Regions from separate parts of the Homo sapiens genome. Here regions 1 and 2 are each linked to region 3. Evidence: promoter capture Hi-C in 16 types of primary human blood cells and fetal thymus (Javierre and others, 2016). All regions are on one chromosome and are shown on one strand. Each heading gives the region's core, a stretch centred on a gene start or on the middle of the fragment in contact. The rest is flanking DNA. Distances are from core to core; before and after follow the strand shown.

Region 1 (2,924 bases), core at 389-2,888, 290 kb before region 3:
GATTCCATAGCTAGCAGCTTCAATCCTTCGCAGCTGCGGTGCGTTCTGAACTCTGGGCTGTCCTTTCCTGACAGGCACTTTCCATAGCATCTGCCTGCTTAATCCCTCACGGCTCAGAAATGTTAACGGCACTGTTGAGTGCTGTGATTATTTTGCTTTCACTATGTCAAGATTTATGGCCTTCGAGAAGCTTCTTTTGAGATAGAGCTAGAGAAGGAAAGCAGAATTTGTAAGATCAGTGACAAAGTTGATGTATTTTTGGAAATTGGAAAAGCTATTATACAAAATTTGGGTCAAATTAATCCAACTTTGCTCATATAAAAGAACCTGGGAGTTAGCGACATCCTGTCATGTTTAACAGTTTTAATGAAATTAACCAATTTAAGCTGACGGTTGGTTTCTTGACCTTTTCTGAAACTCTGCATTGATTTTGGCATGCCTGTTTACCATAGTTATTATATTTGTCAGCGGTGATATTGGTTTATTTCATCCTAAAGATTTGACAAGTCGAGACAAATGAAACTTTGTTTTTATGTAGTAGTATAAATTTAGGAGAATATCTTTTTATCCAATCCTTTCATTATGAATAGCTTAGTAATATTTTCTTGATTTTGTTCCTCTCTCATTCCTGAACATTATTGTTGAGATGGTCAAGTATTTTGTTATTTGAATAAACATATGTAGACTCTTGATATCACTTGGGATTTTGCATTGTTTAGCTTCTTTATTTTCATGTCTTCCTGGCAGTCTTGCTGGAATGGAGTTGGTGGTGTTGATGTTTGTCAAGGATTAGAAAGTCTAGGCCACTCACATCTTCCCGCAAGGTCAGTCTGTTTAGCTTGGAGTTGTTCTGCTGCTTTATTTGCTACTCTTCACCCTGGGTTTCAGTACCTGAGCTCTGTTTCCATCACTGCGAGGGTAAAGCTTTCTCCTACCCTCCTGGTACCTTTTCACTCCTCGCCCTGGTGTACCTTTGCCTCAACTGATCTGGAATCAGACTTCAGGAATTTAGTCATGTTGGGCACTTTTTAAAAAATGATACCATCCTGTATTTCTTTTTGTGTTCAGTTTTTTGGGGTTCTGTGTTTATGGTGCTAATGATGTTAAACTAATGCTCAGAGGAATTCTGAAGCACAGTTATTCACAAAGTTGTACAACCATCACCATTATCTAAGTCCAGAACAGTTTCATCACACCCGGAGAAAACCCTGAATCCATTATCAATCCTTTCCCACTTTCTGCATCCATGGATTTACTTATTCTGAACTTTCATATAAGTGGAATCATATATGTGGCCTTTTATGTCAATTATGACATAATATATGCATAATATTGTTAGTCATTACTGTATGACTTTTACCTAGGAAGTGAAAATTCTTTGGAGAGAGAGAGAGAGGAAAAAATACTGATAAATGATGGTTATAGTTAAGTAATCATGTGTGGAAATGAACTTGTATTTTAGAAACTCGGGGCCGGGCGCGGTGGCTCACACCTGTAATCCCAGCACTTTGAGAGGCCAAGGCGGGCAGATCACGAGGTCAGGAGATCTAGACCATCCTGGCTAACACAGAGAAACCCTGTCTCTACTAAAAATACAAAAAAATTAGCCGGGCGTGGTAGTGGTTGCCTGTAGTCCCAGCTATTCGGGAGGCTGAGGCAGGAGAATGGCATGAACCCGGAAGGCAGAGCTTGCAGTGACCCCAGATCCTGCCACTGCACTCCAGCATGGGTGACAGAGCGAGACTCCGTCTCAAAAAAAAAAAAAAAAAAGAAACTGGGAAATATTTAATAGGAACTGCGGAATGGTCAAGGCTTGTGTTGGATAGAAGTGCCCTATGTGTGACTGGCTGTTAGTCACCAGCACTTTTCTGCAGTGCTGTGTCATGCAGGTTCCTGTTCCCAGCCCTTCTGGAGTTTCACCAATGCCGGTGCTAATTGGTTGTTTAAAATTCGATGTAGAACTCTAAATGAATAAATCCTGACTGAACAGATTCCCTCCATTTCTACCTTAGCTTTTACTGGGCAAAATCCTCCAGGAGTTAGCAGTGAGCAGGAAAAGGACCAGGGTTTTGCTCTCTGGTAACTAAAGGGGGAATTATCCTCCAGAGCAGTTGATTCTCTTGCAAGGGCAGAGAAGCAAAGTATCTGTAGAACCACAGTACCTTGACAGCACTTTAAAAACCCTATTTCCAAGTGCATTTCTGTGAAAACAAGGTTATCTTTAAGAAAAAGATTACTACCTTTATTTGCACTTTTCATTAGAACTGAAAAGTTAGAATTGTTTTATATATTCTCAGTACTATCCCATTCTCTTTTATGGCTGGATTTTTTAAATGGAAAAATCAAGCTTAAATGAGTTTTGGCCTAGTTTTTATAGGACTAAAGGATAGTTGAAAAACAAGTTTCTCTGGTAACTTTCATTATAAATATCTTAGTAATATTTTAAAATTTATTAGGGGCAAAACTCATTTTGGTTTAAACATTTAAAATACTTCTTTGGTGGGGGGAGAAAGGAGACACAGCATTAAAGATCTGCACCTACAAATTAGAATTTCTGGTTTTCGTGTAATTCTGTGTGGAAGCAGTAATAGAATATCAAACTTTTCACCTCTTGGACCTTTCAGTTAAAGGTCAGATTTGAACTGGACCTCTTGTCACCCAGAGGTGACCGATAGAAAAGGAGTTGTTCTGCTTAGATGTTTGGTTAATTTGGATTTATCTGATTGTTTTCCTTAGCATGAATTGTATTGAAGATCAGGAGGAGCTGTCACAGGTTGATTGTGACCTTTTAGGATGTAATTAGGGCACTCAGGTTTTATAGTGGTTTTGGCAGTTGCTCTTGTGACCAGATTTATTGGTTTAAAAGACAGTGCATGGCACACAGTACAGAATCAAGGAATGGCATCTGTCCTGTGAAACAAATC
Region 2 (3,255 bases), core at 486-2,985, 330 kb before region 3:
GATCCGCCTCCTAAGGAAAGGGCTCCGGCGGCTCCTTTGCGTGCCTGGAGAGGCCTTCGCATGCGCCCTCTAGTGGGTGCTTGGAGCTCATAAGCAAAGGGTCATTTCCAAAGTCTACAGTGGAAATTGACGCTGATTTTCAAATCCAAAAATTGGTCTATCGCTATTCTCCCCAAAAGGGACATTTTTCTTAATCTGCTATAAACATAGTGAAAAGTTGTTACTTCATGGTAAATTATTAGCACGATATTTGAATAGTCATTACATTCATTAAACTATTCTTTAAAATTACAATTATAATGTTAGTACTTGCATTATACATCGTGTTTATATAGTACCATTAAAGTCAAATGGCATTTAATATTCACAGCATAAAAGATAAAAGTATCATATAGTGATATTAGGAGGAAAAATCCTCCTGGTATCATTAGGAGAAAAATTTCTTCTAATGGAAAAAACCTCCATTCCCCAACTTTAGCTTTTTCAGCACCATCACTTGTGCTCCGTGCCTCACCTCACCAGCCGCAGGAGAACCCAGCTCCTTCTGACGGGCCCTGTCTCCTGCACCACCAGTTGGAAGGCTTCATTCCCGGCAGCAGACAAGCAAGGCTTGCTCTAGTTCAGCATAAATAACTCCTTCTTTTACCCCACATCCCTTGGAGATTCCCTACCCCCACTTCTCTACTCTTCTCCACAAAACTTTCCACCTTCTGGCCTCACATTCTCTCTCGAACATGCTCTGGTGAAAGCAGTTTTCATCTTCATGGCTCAGCTAAAATGGCTCTTATCAAAAGCACCAACTACGTTCCTCTGGCCAAATGCAGCGCTCCATCTGGGCCCTTTTCTTACTTCCTAAGTGGTATCTGTGAACGCATTTGCCAATCTCCCTTTCTGTAACATCTAGTACTAACATCATGTGACACATAACAAAATTTTGGTCAATGAGAGACTGCATCTATGATGGTGGGCCCATAAGACAATAAGATACCATATTTTTACTCTACCTTTCCATGTTAAGATACACAAACACCATTGTGTCACAACTGCACATGCTGTGCAGGTTTGTAGCCTAGGAGCAATAGGCTATACTAGAAGTGTCCAATCTTTTGGCTTCCCTGGGCCACACTGGAAGAAGGATTGTCTTGGGTCACACATAAAATACACTAACACTAATGATAGCTGGTGAGCTAAAAAAAAAAAAATTGAAAAAAAATATGTGTTAAGAAAGTTTACAAGTTTGTGTTGGGCTGCATTCAAAGCCATCCTGGGCCACAAGTGGCCTGCAGCCAGCAGGTTGGACAAGCTAGTGCTGTATCAGGTTTGTGCAAGTTCACTCTTTGATGTTCACAAAATGACAAAACCTGTAAATGATGAATTTCTCGGAGTGTGTCCCCATCGTTAAGTAACGCATGACTGCATCGGAAACTTACCCAAGCTAAACTGTAACTCTAAATCGGCACACCCAAACCTGCTTCTCTCAGTCCATGTCACCACCGTCCTCCTGGACACTTAATGCCCCTCTTTCACTCACAAACATATTCCACCTAATAGCAAATCCCAGCAGCTTAACTGCCAAAAGAAACTCTGAGCCTTCCATCCCCTGCCGATTCCTATTGCTGACACCCCAGTGTAGCAGCAACACCTCCACCCTCAGCAGCTAGGACCACCTTAAAATAGAGATAAAATCTTATCATCTCCCAGTTCACAACCCCCCAGAGGCCACCAGTCTAATTAGGATGAAACACACCTCCCATGGCCAACAAGATGCTATATCTAGCGCTTCTCAGTCCACAACACCTGAAATCCCTCTGACCCTGCCTGTAGGCTCCACCCATCTTATCTACTTTGCAAGAGCAGTTTCCTCTACATGGGATGTTATTCCCCTGCATGGCCAGCTACCTCTCATCTTTCATATCCCAGGAGTCCCGTCACTTCCTCTGTCCACTTATCTGACCATGCTACCAGAAGCACCCCTTCCCACCATCCCACTGCCCCTTTCAGAATCTTCATAGCACCCCTTTTCATCCTAAATCATCTCATTAACTTATGCCTATGTTTAAGTGTCTCCACTCACCAGGATAGAAGCTCAACAAAGTCAGAGATATATTTGTGCTCATTCAACATGATTGAGCAAATCAATGAATGAATAAATTCCACTTCTTGTGCGTGGCCAAGTGGCCAGCTCACTGCAGTGGCTGCTGGGGCTCCCTCTTCCCAGCGTGTCTCTGGGTTTACAGCTTGTTTCTGTCTTTCAACACTCCTGTGGTGCTTAGGAACCTGCACCCGTAGTGAGCATCCTCTTCATATTTTCTCCAGTTCTCCAACAGGTGAAGTGCCCTAAAGGGAAGCTCTGACTCCAATTAATCCTATTCCTGGCTCTGGTCCTAAGACAGATGACTTGGAAAGAGTGTAGGGAATGGGTTGATTAGGGCAGACATGAAACCAATATGAAGACTTTTCTAATGGTGCAGGAAGAAGGTAGTGAGTGCCTGAATGAGGGCACCGACAGTGGGGTTGCTGGAGAGGGAAGAGATTAAAGAGATACCATGATTAAAGAGATTAAAGAACATCATTCAAATAGGTATGTGAGGTTAAGTGTATTAGTCAGCTCCAGCTGCTGTGACAAAGTACCAGAGACAGGTTGGCTTAAACAACACGTTTTTGAGTTTCAGAGGCCGCAAGTCAGTGATCGAGATCAAGATCGGCATGCCTGGTTTCTTCTGAGACCTCTCCTTGTCTTGCAGATGGCGCCCCTTGCTGTGTCCTCCCATGGCCCTCATGCCTCTCTCTCTTCTTATAAGGACATCAGTCCTGTTGGATCAAGGCCCTACCCTTCCAATCTCATTTAACCTTGGTTATCTCCTTATAGGTCCCATCTCCACATACAGTCACATACTTCAACATGTGAATGTTGGGAAGACGCAATTAAGTCCATAAAGGAAGGGACAGGTTAAGAAGCATTAGTGGGCCAGGCGCGGTGACTCACGCCTGTAATCCCAGCACTTTGGGAGGCCGAGGTGGGTGGATCACCTGAGGTCAGGAGTTCGAGACCATCCTGGCCAACATGGTGAAACCCCCTCTCTATTAAAAATACAAAAAGTTAGCCGGGCGTAGTGGTGGGTGCCCGTAATCCCAGCTACTCAGGAGGCTGAGACAGGACAATCGCTTGAACCTGGAAGGTGGAGGTTGCAGTGAGCCAAGATCATGCCACTGCACTCCAGCCTGGGCAACAAGAGCAAAACTCTGTCTCAAAAA
Region 3 (3,274 bases), core at 331-2,830:
TGCTTGCCCGCGTGCTTCCAGGGGATGCGGAAGATGCTCTTCTCCTCGTTCTCCCACACCAGCCCGGGGTACTTGCCGCTGTCGATCTGGTCGATCAGCCACTGGCGGAGCTTCCCGTTGCCGCAGCTCACCGCGCTCATGCCGAACTCTCCGCCTCGGCCGCCGCCCTCCAGGTTCATGCCCCGCGTGCCGTCCGCGCCCGCGCCCGGGGTCCTCCGCCCGCTCTGCTCTGCACTGCGGGGAGAAGAGCTGCCCTTCAGCCACGAGGCACCGCACTCCGGGCACCCCGCCCCGATCCCCTGCGCCAGTGACCACGAGGCCCCGGAGTCTTTGAGGCTGCGAAGCGCGCGCGTGCCGTGTCAGGGTCGTCCGGGCCCCCGGAAGAAGGCACCTTCGCGGCCGGCCCGGGCGCATCCCCTGGGCGGGCACAGCCGTCCGCCTTCCGAGCTCGGCCCCCGCGAAGGCTCCTACCCGCCTGCTCTCCTGTAACGCACCCGCAGCCCAAAGGCTCCCGACACGCGCCGCTCGTCTTGCACCCTCTCTCCCCACCCAGCCGCCACCCCTCCTGGCCCTCCTTCCGCACTCACTCGCAGCTCTCGCTTGCCTTCGCTCACTCCCAACCCGCTTCTCGCCCCTTCCCCGCGACTCTGTCAGTTTCCACTCCCCTGGCGGCCTCCACGCGCGGAGGACCTCGCCTGCGGCCGGGCGTTCCAGGGGCGCAGCCCCGGGTTCCTCCACCCTCCGCTTTCTCTGCTCGCATCCAGACCCTTCGCCCCGAATAGGACCCCTATCCCTGCCCAGCTAGCGCGCACTAAGTGGGCTCTGCAAACGACAAGTGGCGCAGACGCGGGGGCTGCAGCCCCAGTACGGGGGATTCCGCGCGCAGAGCGTCCGCCGGACCCCGGAGCAGGCCCGGGAGAGCGGAGGCGGGGAGGGCGCGGGAGAGGGCGACGACAGCTGCGGAGCCTGGGAGGCAGGGACCGCGCCAGGCCGGCTAGGCCACCGCACGCAAGGCTCGGAGCGACCCAAATGTGGAGCTCCTCCTCCTCCTGCGCCAGCGGGTGAGCACCGCGCCGGAGGCCGCCGTGAGCTTGGGCCCCTTAGGAACGAAGAGCAGGGGAAGGAGCCTCGGATTGGGGTCCACAGGGCCGGGCCTGTTTCTCGCAGGCAGTTGTGCCGTCTTGTGTGGGTGCCTTGGACGGCCCCGCCTCAGCCACTCCTGGGGCCCCGACAGTCCGGTTAGCTCATCCCGTCCAGCTTGTGGCGACCCCGTCGCAGGAGCGCGGAGGGCAGGCGGGGAGGCTCGGGCAGAGCCAAGGAGGCGGGCCTTGGAGCCCAAACCAGCGCCTCCGGCTCAGCGCAGATGGGGTGGGAGTCGGAGCTCCAGGACGGGGCGCGCTCCCTTCCCGCTCCGAAGCCGGGGTACCCTGCGCTGCCCTGGAGGTCGAACCTCTGGTTCGCGCTCCGGGTCCTCTCTGGTATCAGCCTCACACCCCTCCTCCTGCCCGACTCCAGCCCTTACCTCGCCCTGGACTCGGAGCTGAGGGCAGCGGTGGGTCCCAAGATCGAGCGGTGAAACTGAGAGTGCGAGGTGGGAAAGAGGAACTTTATAGAACTCTCTGGGGCGGGGCCTGGGGCGGGGCGGGGCGCCGAGGCCTGTGGGGGCCGGGGGTTGGACTGGGGAGAGGGACTTTGCAAGCCGAGAGCCGGGGCCGGCCGGGCGGGCGAGCCTCAGGGCCGGCGTGAAGGCTGGGGGCTGCCGCGGCCGGGGTGGGGTTCCCGCGCCCTTGGCGACCCTCCGCGCGCCGCGCCCGGAGAGCGCACCTCCAGCCGGGCGCGCGCCGCTTCGGGGACTGTCACTGGGGCCGTTTCCCGCGAAGGGCGAGGTGCGAAATGCGAATCTCGCCTTTGCGCCAGGACCTCAGGAGGCCAGTCAATCACTAAACTGCAGCGATGTGGCCAGGGCGGGAAATGGGGGGCGTGTAGTAGCGGGAATCTGGTGCGAAGGGGACTTCGCTTTGCAGAGCGTGTAACGGAAGACGGAGGAATGGTCCAAAGAGAACTGGAGGTGGAGGTTGCGGGAGCACCCTCGGCAAGGCCATCACCGGGAACCCTGCCTCTCCGCGGTGTTTAGAGAACATCGCACTCACTAAAAAGAAAATAGGAAATGGCCCAGCTCCCTTGAGCTATTAAGCTTGATTCAAATACTGTCTCTGCGTGTCTGACATGCTTACATCCTTTTGCATCTATTAGGCTGGTGAATTGAAGTGACTCAGACAATGCCCCGGCCCCGAAGTTTTAATTATCTTAGCATGAAAGAGATGGGGGCGGGGAGAGGCTCCCTAAGGATCCAAGTGCTTAATCACTTCCAGACTTCAGTTCACCTTAAAATGATGTCGTTTTAACCTCAACCTGGAGGAAAGCAGTTTACCAGTGGGGTATAAAAGCCCAAAATAGGCCAGGCGCTGTGGCTCAAGCCTGTAATCCCAGCACTTTGGGAGGCCGAGGCGGTGGATCGCCTGAGGTCAGGAGTTCGAGACCAGCCTGGCCAACACGGTGAAACCCCATCTCTACTAAAAATACAAAAATTAGCCGGGCGTGGCCCCAGCTACTTGAGAGGACGAGCCACGAGAATCGCTTGAACCCGGGAGGCTGAAGTTGCAGTGAGCCGAGGTGGGCGACAGAGCAAGACTCCATCTCAAAATAAATAAATAAAAGCCCAAAATAGGAATAATACTTAAGTGGACCAGGGATTTTACATACTTTTCCAAGATGTCCTTAATCGCAAAATTAACCCCCTGAGCTTTCACCCGTTGAGCTTTCGATCGTCTGAGATGCTGAGTATGTGCATTTACTTCGCATTTTCAGGTAAACCATCAGATCTCTGGTTTCTATATGATTTTAGACCACCACCACCGTAGGTCAACCTGCAACTTTTGAAAAGCTTTTGATTTCACTTATTTCTCAGTTTTTGTTTTAATCTTATATATTGGGTCAATGTCTCCTAACCAAAGAAGAATCTATGTTTAGGCTAGAGCAAAACAGGTAGTGAGGTATGGATAGGTATGCTTTTCCTAAAACCAACAGACGTTCTCAGAAATTAACAGGATGCCATTTTTTATTTCACCCAAGTAAGTTTTCCATTACCAAAGTCTATGTAATAAACAACAGGGTTTTGTTCACAAAAAGTTCTGGTCACAACCTGTTTTTCTTCCTTTCCTTTCACAGATTTATTCACTTGACAAATGTATTTTGAGCACCTGCTACTTGTCAG

Evidence for each region. Contacts are between HindIII fragments. The CHiCAGO score rates a contact against its expected background, and 5 or more counts as called.
Region 1: a fragment that was not itself captured here is called in contact with the fragment with the promoter of IRF4 in region 3 in 2 of 17 cell types (activated CD4 T cells and non-activated CD4 T cells); the score reaches 10.7 in activated CD4 T cells.
Region 2: a contact is called between a fragment that was not itself captured here and the fragment with the promoter of IRF4 in region 3, in 1 of 17 cell types (activated CD4 T cells). The highest score is 5.4, in activated CD4 T cells.

The regions. Positions count from the first base shown.
Region 1 is chr6:681,046-683,969 of GRCh38, reverse strand. All of the region lies in intron 1 of EXOC2 (exocyst complex component 2), which reads left to right. Among named protein-coding and RNA genes, the nearest start is that of EXOC2, 11 kb to the left of the region's middle. RefSeq lists an enhancer at 1-19. The HindIII fragment of the contact is 1,423 bases long and covers 927-2,349 here.
Region 2 is chr6:718,988-722,242 of GRCh38, reverse strand. No RefSeq gene overlaps it. Among named protein-coding and RNA genes, the nearest start is that of EXOC2, 27 kb to the right of the region's middle. RefSeq lists a silencer at 61-140. The HindIII fragment of the contact is 3,832 bases long and covers 1-3,255 here.
Region 3 is chr6:390,058-393,331 of GRCh38, reverse strand. It overlaps IRF4 (interferon regulatory factor 4), which reads right to left and starts at 1,580. Exons shown (of 9, transcript NM_002460.4): 1 at 1,523-1,580; 2 at 1-234. The coding sequence starts at 179. RefSeq lists silencers at 424-533, 644-693, 864-913, 1,194-1,263, 1,504-1,893 and 1 more. The HindIII fragment of the contact is 5,232 bases long and covers 1-2,196 here.